Regions from separate parts of the Homo sapiens genome. Here all the other regions are linked to region 2. Evidence: promoter capture Hi-C in 16 types of primary human blood cells and fetal thymus (Javierre and others, 2016). All regions are on one chromosome and are shown on one strand. Each heading gives the region's core, a stretch centred on a gene start or on the middle of the fragment in contact. The rest is flanking DNA. Distances are from core to core; before and after follow the strand shown.

What was found. The method cuts DNA at HindIII sites, captures the fragments that hold promoters and counts their contacts. A CHiCAGO score of 5 or more calls a contact.
Region 1: a contact is called between a fragment that was not itself captured here and the fragment with the promoter of NCR2 in region 2, in 4 of 17 cell types (monocytes, naive CD4 T cells, megakaryocytes and 1 more). The highest score is 6.1, in monocytes.
Region 3: a fragment that was not itself captured here is called in contact with the fragment with the promoter of NCR2 in region 2 in 1 of 17 cell types (neutrophils); the score reaches 9.1 in neutrophils.

The regions. Positions count from the first base shown.
Region 1 is chr6:41,075,499-41,078,623 of GRCh38, reverse strand. The region is part of intron 1 of NFYA (nuclear transcription factor Y subunit alpha); the gene reads right to left. It also overlaps a transcript of OARD1 not described here. Among named protein-coding and RNA genes, the nearest start is that of NFYA, 4.1 kb to the right of the region's middle. The HindIII fragment of the contact is 3,130 bases long and covers 1-3,076 here.
Region 2 is chr6:41,334,257-41,337,151 of GRCh38, reverse strand. It overlaps NCR2 (natural cytotoxicity triggering receptor 2), which reads right to left and starts at 1,544. Exons shown (of 5, transcript NM_004828.4): 1 at 1,224-1,544; 2 at 724-1,065. The coding sequence starts at 1,275. RefSeq lists an enhancer at 2,797-2,895. The HindIII fragment of the contact is 13,900 bases long and covers 1-2,895 here.
Region 3 is chr6:41,059,010-41,061,749 of GRCh38, reverse strand. APOBEC2 (apolipoprotein B mRNA editing enzyme catalytic subunit 2) reads right to left here. Exons shown (of 3, transcript NM_006789.4): 2 at 1-422. Among named protein-coding and RNA genes, the nearest start is that of APOBEC2, 7.2 kb to the right of the region's middle. The HindIII fragment of the contact is 2,270 bases long and covers 252-2,521 here.

The sequences.
Region 1 (3,125 bases), core at 262-2,761, 260 kb after region 2:
TACATATGGTAGGCAAAATTTACCCTTCTCATAGACTTTAAGAGTTGAAGATCCACTTTTAAAAATAAGGATACAATTAGATAAACTGAATGATATCTGAGAACCTTTAATAAAGACTTCATTAAAAAATTAAAATGATATAAGTTAGCAATCGGCAATTCATCTTGGAAATATGGGAGGGAGGACAGATATATAAACAAAAATGTAGATAGGTCTTTCTCTCTGATTTTTCACTAGGCCCTCATAAATTCCAACATCTGAATAATAAAATGACGTGACCTAACTGAGCTGCTCATTATCGTGGCAAAGTACAGTACCACTCTCCATAAATCCACACATGCTGGTGGAATTAATCATTTGCAAGGTGTCTCAATACAGTGTGAAAGAAGAAACCAAAATATGTGCAACTATATGTCCAAGTACTTAGAAAGAAGTGTATTGATATCTAAAATTTACTTTGAAATGCATCAAAAAATGGATGAATGGGTGGAGAAATATCTGGTAAGGCAATTATAGTAAGATGTTAATAGACCCTAACTGGCAGGTATACAGGTGTTTATTTTCAAATTCCTTTGATTTCACTGCACACTTGAAAATTCTTATTTCTAGAATAAGAATTTTGAGAAATTCTTATTTCCCAAATGAATGTTGGAATGTTAGGAAAAATATAACAAAATTTAATCAAAATAAAAATTAATCAACCCCATTACTCATAACCAAAATGGATACAACATAAGAATCTATGAGCCATAAATAACAGGCTATGTCATCACAGCAAGAGGACTTGTGGCCATATGGTTCTCCAAAGCACTGCCCTTGATCTAATGGAATGCTCGCTAGGTAAATTTCTAGCTATAATTTGGATTTACATATAGATTGGCCAACAGGGAGCAAATATAATCAGCAACATGACAAACCGGTTTTCTGATTTTTACACCAGTCTCTTTGGAATTGGTTGACTAAGTCTGCTCCTCAGAGATTCTGGGTATAGAATAGAAAATCAGGTTTTCAGCCAGACTGTGAGTCTGTTAGGGGCACTAACAGGCTTCCCTAAATTCTATCTTGTCTCTAATACACAATACATTTATGGCTATAAACTAATAAAATTAAGGTTATGATGTAAACGAATATATATGATTCCATTTATATAAAATCTCCAAAAGACATCAGTAATCTAGAGACAGAAAATGGATCAGTGGTTCCTTGGGAGTGGAGAATACAGGGAGACAGGAAAGAGGGAGGTTGACTGGCATGGAGCCTTAGGAACATTGTAGGGTGATGAAAATGTTTTATATCTTCATTGTGGTAGCAGTTGCACAGGTGTACAAATTTGTCAAAACTCATCAAAATACACATTTAAAATTATTATACTTTGTTTCTAAAGTATCTCTCAATAAATTGATTTTAAAAAATAAGGATCATGAAAGGAATGTCTTTTAGGTTTCAACGCCTCCCCAACTCCAAATTTCCTTCTTATATGAGATTTTTTCCTTGACTAATATCCAGAAGTTTACATCTTTACAAGACTAAATATAACTTGAAGCACATAATGACTAATATATGTAACGTACAGATTTTCTTCTTAACTAGTTTATTCTGGTAATACAAATGAACCAATTTAGCAATATTTAAATTTATACTTTGAAGAGTATCAAGATTTGAAGAGCAGCTTCAAATCTAGCAGCAATTCTCTCTCACATTAATGACAGAGTGATTTAGCCTGTATCATGATATTGATACTGTTAATGGTTAATGCTATAAGCAACTGGCTTCAGTAAAGTCATATGTTCCTACTACTGTGAGCTTCAGTTAGCAAGACTGCAATACAATTCGATAGTCTTTCCCAAAGTGCCTCTTTGCCCAAGATTATGACAAACTAAGCCAGATTTAGTCTGTCTAGCTCTTGCTCTTAACACAAAGTTTTGAATGGTTTTTCCTCAAAGAGAGAGAAACAAATAATAAGTGTTTATTCTGGCTAGCATGAAAATTCTCTTCCTAGTGCATTCTCTTCTCAGTGCAATTCTCTTTGCCCCACTATTCCAAGGTGCAAAAGCTGAGACTTAGCCAACCACTTACTAGGAACCCATTCTATGTGGACCTACACAAACTCCAAAGCTAAAACCTCTTCAGAAACTCAACTAGTGTAAGCATATGAAAAGCCATAGGATTATCACAGTTGATAATCACTACCAGGCAAAGCCTAGAACAGTAGCTTTTTAACTTTTTTGACCACAACCCTTAGTAAGAAACACATTTCATTATCACAACTCAGTGCACACATGTATAAAGCATGTAACTGAAATGAAAGTTTCATGAAACAGCATTTACCTTTATACAACACAAGATGCACTTTGGTATTTTCTATTCTTTTTTTTCTTTTAAGAGAGGGGGTCTCCCTATGCTACCCAGGCTGGTCTCAAACTCCTGAGCTCAAAGGATTCTCCCACTTCGGCTTCCCAAAGTGCTGGGATTACAGTCGTGAGCCATCATCATGCCTGGCAGATATTTTCTATTCTATTATTTAAAAATTCCCAGCATTGGCTCACTCAATTTCTTTCACAACTCAACAAGTGGGTCCTGATAGACGCTTGATGAAAGACTAGACTACAACAAAGGGCTGTCCAGCTTCCCCATCATCCTACAGATTTCTGGATTGGAGCTTTCTAATGCACTTCTCTCCACTAATTATGTACCATGTGCCAGACACTGTTCTGAAGGTTTTAAAAATAAAAAGAAATCTCTGACGAAGATTCAAACTTCAAAGAGTCTTTAAGTTTAGTAATGGACTAAAAACCTATACTGGAATCCTAAGAGATAAAGTGATATGGGAATTTGGAGGACAGAGATTTGTTCCAGCTGGGGATAAATCAACAAGGCTTAAAAAAAAAAAGGTACTACTTGAACTTTTTTTTTCTTTGCTATCAGAGGCCTGCAGGATGAACTGGTCTTAAGTGTGAGAAAGATTTAGCTATGTGATGATGTGGAGGAAGGTGAAGTACTACAAATCAAGAGAGCATAAAAACAAGAACAGAAATATTTCAGCATGTGAACAGTGGACTAAACAGGAAAAAAAGCTTGGGGCCACACTACTTTCTCTCAAAATGTCAGACAAAGAAATTCTTCTG
Region 2 (2,895 bases), core at 295-2,794:
TTTTTTTTTAGAAGGTCCTCTTCCACAGGAACTGTGGGTAGCTCTGCTCTGAGCAGGAGTTTGGCACACTTTCTGTAAAGGGTCAGGGATGAGCCATGTGGTCTCTGTCACAGCTGCTCAATTTTGCTGTCACAGCATGAAAAGGGCCACAGACAATAGGTAATTGAGTGGGCATGGCTGTGTTCCAAAAAATAACTCCACTTATAGGCACTGAAATTTGAATTTCCTGTATGTCACAAAATATTGTTTTTCTTTTGATTTTTTTTCACTCATTCTTAGTTTTTTTCACTCATTCTTAGTCCCCGATCTGGACTATGAGGGATACCCATAGTATCTTGGTATCTAGACTACCCAGATACCACTGGCTCTACATGGTGGGGGCAGCCAGTGGATGCACCTTTCCTGGGCACCTACTATGTACCAAAGATGCCGGGTGGTCCTGCCCTCCTGTAGCAGGGTCATATAGGCTGACTGGTCAGCATGCTCACCGGGTCTGTTTCAGCATCTCTCAGGAGGCCCAGGCTGCAGGCTTGGGAGTCATGCAGACTGTGAGATGGCTGCTCTTGTGCACATATGAGTTCCCCCTGCACCTGTTCCCAACAGCCTTCCCAGGAGACTGGGGCGTGGGCATGGGTGGCTTCCACGATTGGGAAACCAGGGGTGATGGAGGCACCAAAAGGGGGTGAGGGGCACCCCTCTGAGGACCCTAGGGAAAGAGCTCACCTGGAGATACCACCAGATAGAATCTGACGGACTTAGAGACAGAGTTGTCAGAAGGGCGGTAGATTCTACACCAGTAATGTCCTGAGTCTTCCTCTCTCAGATCAGTCATGGTGACAGTGAAGAAGCCAGCATCAGGGTCGTCCCAGATTGTGAATCGAGAGGTCCAAGCCATCGTCCTGGGCTTGGAGCTGGTGACTAACCTGATGCACACAAGTGCTGAAGCCTCCTTACACCAGCCTTTCTTCTCGTAGAGACTGCCCGTGGGCGGGTACTGGCATCTCACGGTTAGCGTCTGCCCTGCCACACTTTGAAGTACCTGAGCCTTGGATTGTGCCTGAGAGCCTGGAGAATGATGAAGTAACGCATAGGTCAAGGCCACGCGCACAACCTGCCTCACAGCAGGCCTCTGGCCACAGAGCCACCTGCTCCCTGACCCTGCTGTCCTGACAGTCCCCACCACACCCATCTCCTCTGCTCCCTGGGCTCCTCCTCCCCCTCACCTGGGAACAGCAGCAGCAGCAGTAGCAGTGGGTGTAGGGCTCGCCAGGCCATGTGGTCCTTTTCCTGTGCGCTCATGGGAGGGGACACCTGGAGAAGACTGGGGAGAGGGAATTGGGAGCTGGGCCTGATTCTGCTGCTCTTCCAGCACGTCTGATAGAAAAATGAGACAGGCTGAGGCCTGGGTTGGGGAGATGGGAGACTGCAAAGGGCAGATTCTGTGGGCACAGGGAAGTGGGGATCTCCAGCTGTAGGTGAGTCTGGGTCTGGTGGGCTCGGCGCTGTCTGGCACACAGCTTCCCAGGCCTCTGTAGAAGATGCCTGCTCTCCCCTGTGCCCAGCTGCCCCTCCCCACCATGACCTACCCCTGAGGGAGGAGCTGAAAAGGCCAGGAGGAAACTGTGGGCGAGTTATGGACTGCTTCCCCCTTGCTCCCTCTGTGTGCTGCCTCTCTTCTTTGCAGGGCCCTAGCTTTGCCGCCCTTTCCAGGGAAAGGCAGGCTGAGGGTGGATGACAAACTCAGGGGCACTTGGAACCCTGATCACAAGCCCCAAGCCTCACTGGTCACAGGATGGCCAGGGACGTCATGCCCAGGCCTCCATGGTGGGTCAGTGATGTGCTTCCACTCTGGGAGTTTCGTGGGTGCGGGAAAGGAGAGGGGAGAGGAGGTGGAGATTCAAAACCAGCAAGGGAGGCTAGGGAGGGTCCCTGGCAAAGGTCGGGGAGGGGAGGGTGGGAAGAGCACACGGAGCATGGGATGCATCAGTGGGGTGGGGTAGAGGGAGCCCAGGAACCAGGACCTGGCCTCATCTCTGCATCCTGGACCTCTGCCACTTAAGGACCCTGGAGAAATATTGTTTAATTAAAACATAAACAGATGAAAGACTCTAGCATATTTTTCTTTAGTTAATGTCAGCACTTTGAAGATTCAGTTTTAAAATACGATGCAATTTACAAAGAGAACGAGCTAATATATCTTAGGACTGGTAGAGACACTGTGTGTAATTGCAGTTGCACCACTGGGGGCTCTGCTGGACTGGCGATCTGCTGCCGGGAGCTCTGTGAACAGAGGTAATAACTGAGACGGGAATTGGAACTTGTCAAGTGGACTCGATTCCAAGTCCACTGCTTTGCCTGCCCCTGGACTCCTGCTCTCCACTCCATCTCAGTACACTGCCCTTCTCCTTACAGTAGGAGTATGCAGAGACTGAGAATGGGAAAGGCAGAGGGGTATGCAAAAGGAGGACACAGTAGGGCTATCAGATGTTGGCGCCCAAGGGCCCAAGGTGGGAAAGCAGGCTGGAGCTCCAGAGCTAGAAGACAGCTCAGGGAGCGATGCCCGCCACTCACTCACACAAGCATTATTTACAAAGCATTCTCATGCACACTTTCTCAAGACCCTCAGCAGGTTCGCGAGGGAGACATTACTTCTCTTTTTCACAGATGTGAGAACTGAGGCCCAGATATGGTCAGCCACCTGCTCAGAGTCACACAGGACCAGAACAGGCCTCCTGACTTCGGTCTGGAGCCTTCCGGCTGGTCTGGTTGAAATGCGACCCACAGACATGACAGGAAACCAGGGGTGAGAAAGAGGCTCCCACTGAATTGCACACACAGGCGGAGGTGAGCTTTTAGGGGGTTTCCTCGCCGACAGTGGGGCCCAGCTTCTCCCTG
Region 3 (2,740 bases), core at 137-2,636, 280 kb after region 2:
CGAAGTCCTGGGGCTTCATGATGCGCAGTTTACAGCCAGCCTCCTTCAGCTTCTTCAGAGCAGCCTGGATCTCCGGCTCCTCCCACATGAAGAGTCGACCCACCAGAATGAGCAGACGCAGGTTCTTGGTCTTGCTAAGGGTTTTGATAATGCGGTCAGCACACGCTGCACAGGGGCTGGAGGACACATACCAGGTGACATTGTACCGCAGGGCTGGGTCGAAGGCTGGCAGGATGGTGTTGAAGAAAGCTTCCTCTGCATGGGCAGCCGCATGCTCATCCTCTAGGTATCCCCGAGATGCCTGCACTTGGCCCCCCTTGCCCTGTGCTTCAACCACATAGCAGAGGAAGGTCTTGTTCCTCCCGGAACTGTACTCCACATTCCGGAACTGGAATTTAAAGAAGTTGGCAGGCAGCCGTTCTCTGTAGGTCAAGGAGACAAAAGGACAGGAAAGAATGATAAGTTCTTGTTTCTAGAACCAGCCTAGAGTAGGTAGCTCTTCCAGGTCAGTACTTCAGAAATGCATTCACTCTTACTATAAATAGGTCTTGTCTGTGGTAACATCAGTGACAAAAAAAAAAAAAAAAAAAAAAGCATTAAAAAATCCAGAAGGGTTTATCTGAAGGAGAGGAGAATTTGGACTGAGGTGTGCATTTTGGTCACCCTACTAGGACATTGTCTCCACCATCACTCTTCCAGCACAACATACCCCTACATTTCTAAATCACTGAATCTTTAACCTGCCTATACCTTAGAATCACCTAGAAGACTGAGAATGTCAGTGCCTGGGCCTCATGCCAAACCAATTAAATCAGAACATGTGGAGAGGTGGTCCAAGCATCAGTATTTTTAAAAAGCTCTCTGGATGATTCCAATAAGTGGCCAGGTAAGTAGCAAGCATATAAAATTTCTCATGACAGAGCAAAACAAAGATTTTGCAGAGCATTTTATGCTTTTTTCTCTTCCTTGTAACTCATGTAAATTGCATCTTGGCATGAAATGGCCTAAAACTTGCAATAACATGCTCTCCTTCTCAAGTGACTACTTCTCAAGTCTGTTTACTTTCAGGTAAAGGGATTGTCACATGCTAAGTGTCCAAGAATTTTTATCTGTGAGGACAGACTACTCAAGGGTATCTTGGGATAGTTAAGCCTGTATTTAGTATTGAGTCACCTCCAAATCTTAAAGGACTTGGTCTCTGCCCTCCAGATGCTTATAATTTAGCAGCTAGATTGCAGCTGGACAGAGAAGATGTAAATAAAACAGCTGAGAACATTATAAGACTGCTAAAATTGGATAGGTACAGTAAAGGAAGTATTATGAAGGTTCTCGAAAGTTTGGCCTTGATTCGGGAGGCAGTAGAGAATTGTTACAGGTTCTTGAGAAGGAAAACAATAAAAATGATGTCCATGCAAGATTACAGTCTTGGCAATAGGCAGATAGTGTGAAGCTGAGGAAAAGCCTCAAATTGAACAAGTCCAGTAGGTATCTTAGGACACTAAACTTGGTGATGAATTGTGTGGGTGCCTTTGAGGAGGAGATGGATGGTTAGGAAATGAAAACAGCAGGAAAAGTCCAGGAATTTTGAAAATTTTGGTAATAACAAGGAGAAGAAAAAAGAGAAGGGCCAGAGAAGACATCAGAGTTGAAGATTGTTTTTACTTTTATGTGTATGTGTGTGTTTTTCTAAAATAGGCAAGATTTGTTCAAGTTTGAAGTCCAAAGAAAATGAATTTTTAATAGGAGAGATGAAAAATGTCAAGAGAGGAGGAGATGAGTACCAGCTAGAAAGATTCAATGTTTTCCTTTTTAAAAATGTAATCTCTCTGCCTGCCCCAAGAGATACCTATGGCACCATTAATTCTACTATTGCCTGTCTCCACCTCTTCTCTTTCCCCAAAGAAGTCAACAGACTCCCTGGGCTGCAGGGGAATCCCTGGTATCCCAGGGCCTTGGCTGCCTAGGGATGAGCAGCAGATGCCAAAGATATGAGTAAACTTGACTTATTTCCCTGCAGGATTCCCTCACCCCCACCCATCACCAAAATGTATCCACCCAAGTTTCCATGTCCCGTGCTGTCAGGTTCATTTTCCACTGTGGAGATGGATGTGTTTGAGGACCCAGCCCCAGGATTCCATCAGGTACTATACTTAGCTCTCTAAGCCCCTGTGTCCCTAGTTGGAGGTGTTTATTGTTTACTTAACATTTTAGGAGAATGGATCGCCTGATGTTTCCCTGCTCCTCTTCTCAATCCCTGTCAGGCGTTCACTTATAGTGAGTGCTCCCCAAAGGTACTCACCCCACCAGACCACTCCTCAACTTTACCAGTTGCCAAATGGTCCCTTCACTTCCTGGAGTGGCTTTTTGCTTTTGAGAAGCTCAGAGCTTACCGTTCCTGCCCAAACTTGCTCTTCAAGACCTTTTGCCCCACTCCCCAAGTCTAATCCAGGGCCACCTATATGATGGATTATCAGGTGGAACCCTGGCAAGTATTCATGGCTACTCAAATAGCTTGGAAGCTTAAACAGTAGCTGCTGTGTGGTCCCTCTTTTCCTTCTGGAGCTCCCTATAGCTCAGCTGAAAGTATGAATTTAGGCCAGTGTGAATTTGGCCCAGCATGCAATTGCAAATTGGCTTTGATGGTTGTGAGGTGACTGTTTCTTTCTGCCCTTCTTAAGCTCTGACATTTTCCCCTCCTCCTCTTCCCTAGGCAAGAGGAGAAGACCCAAAGAAACCTGAA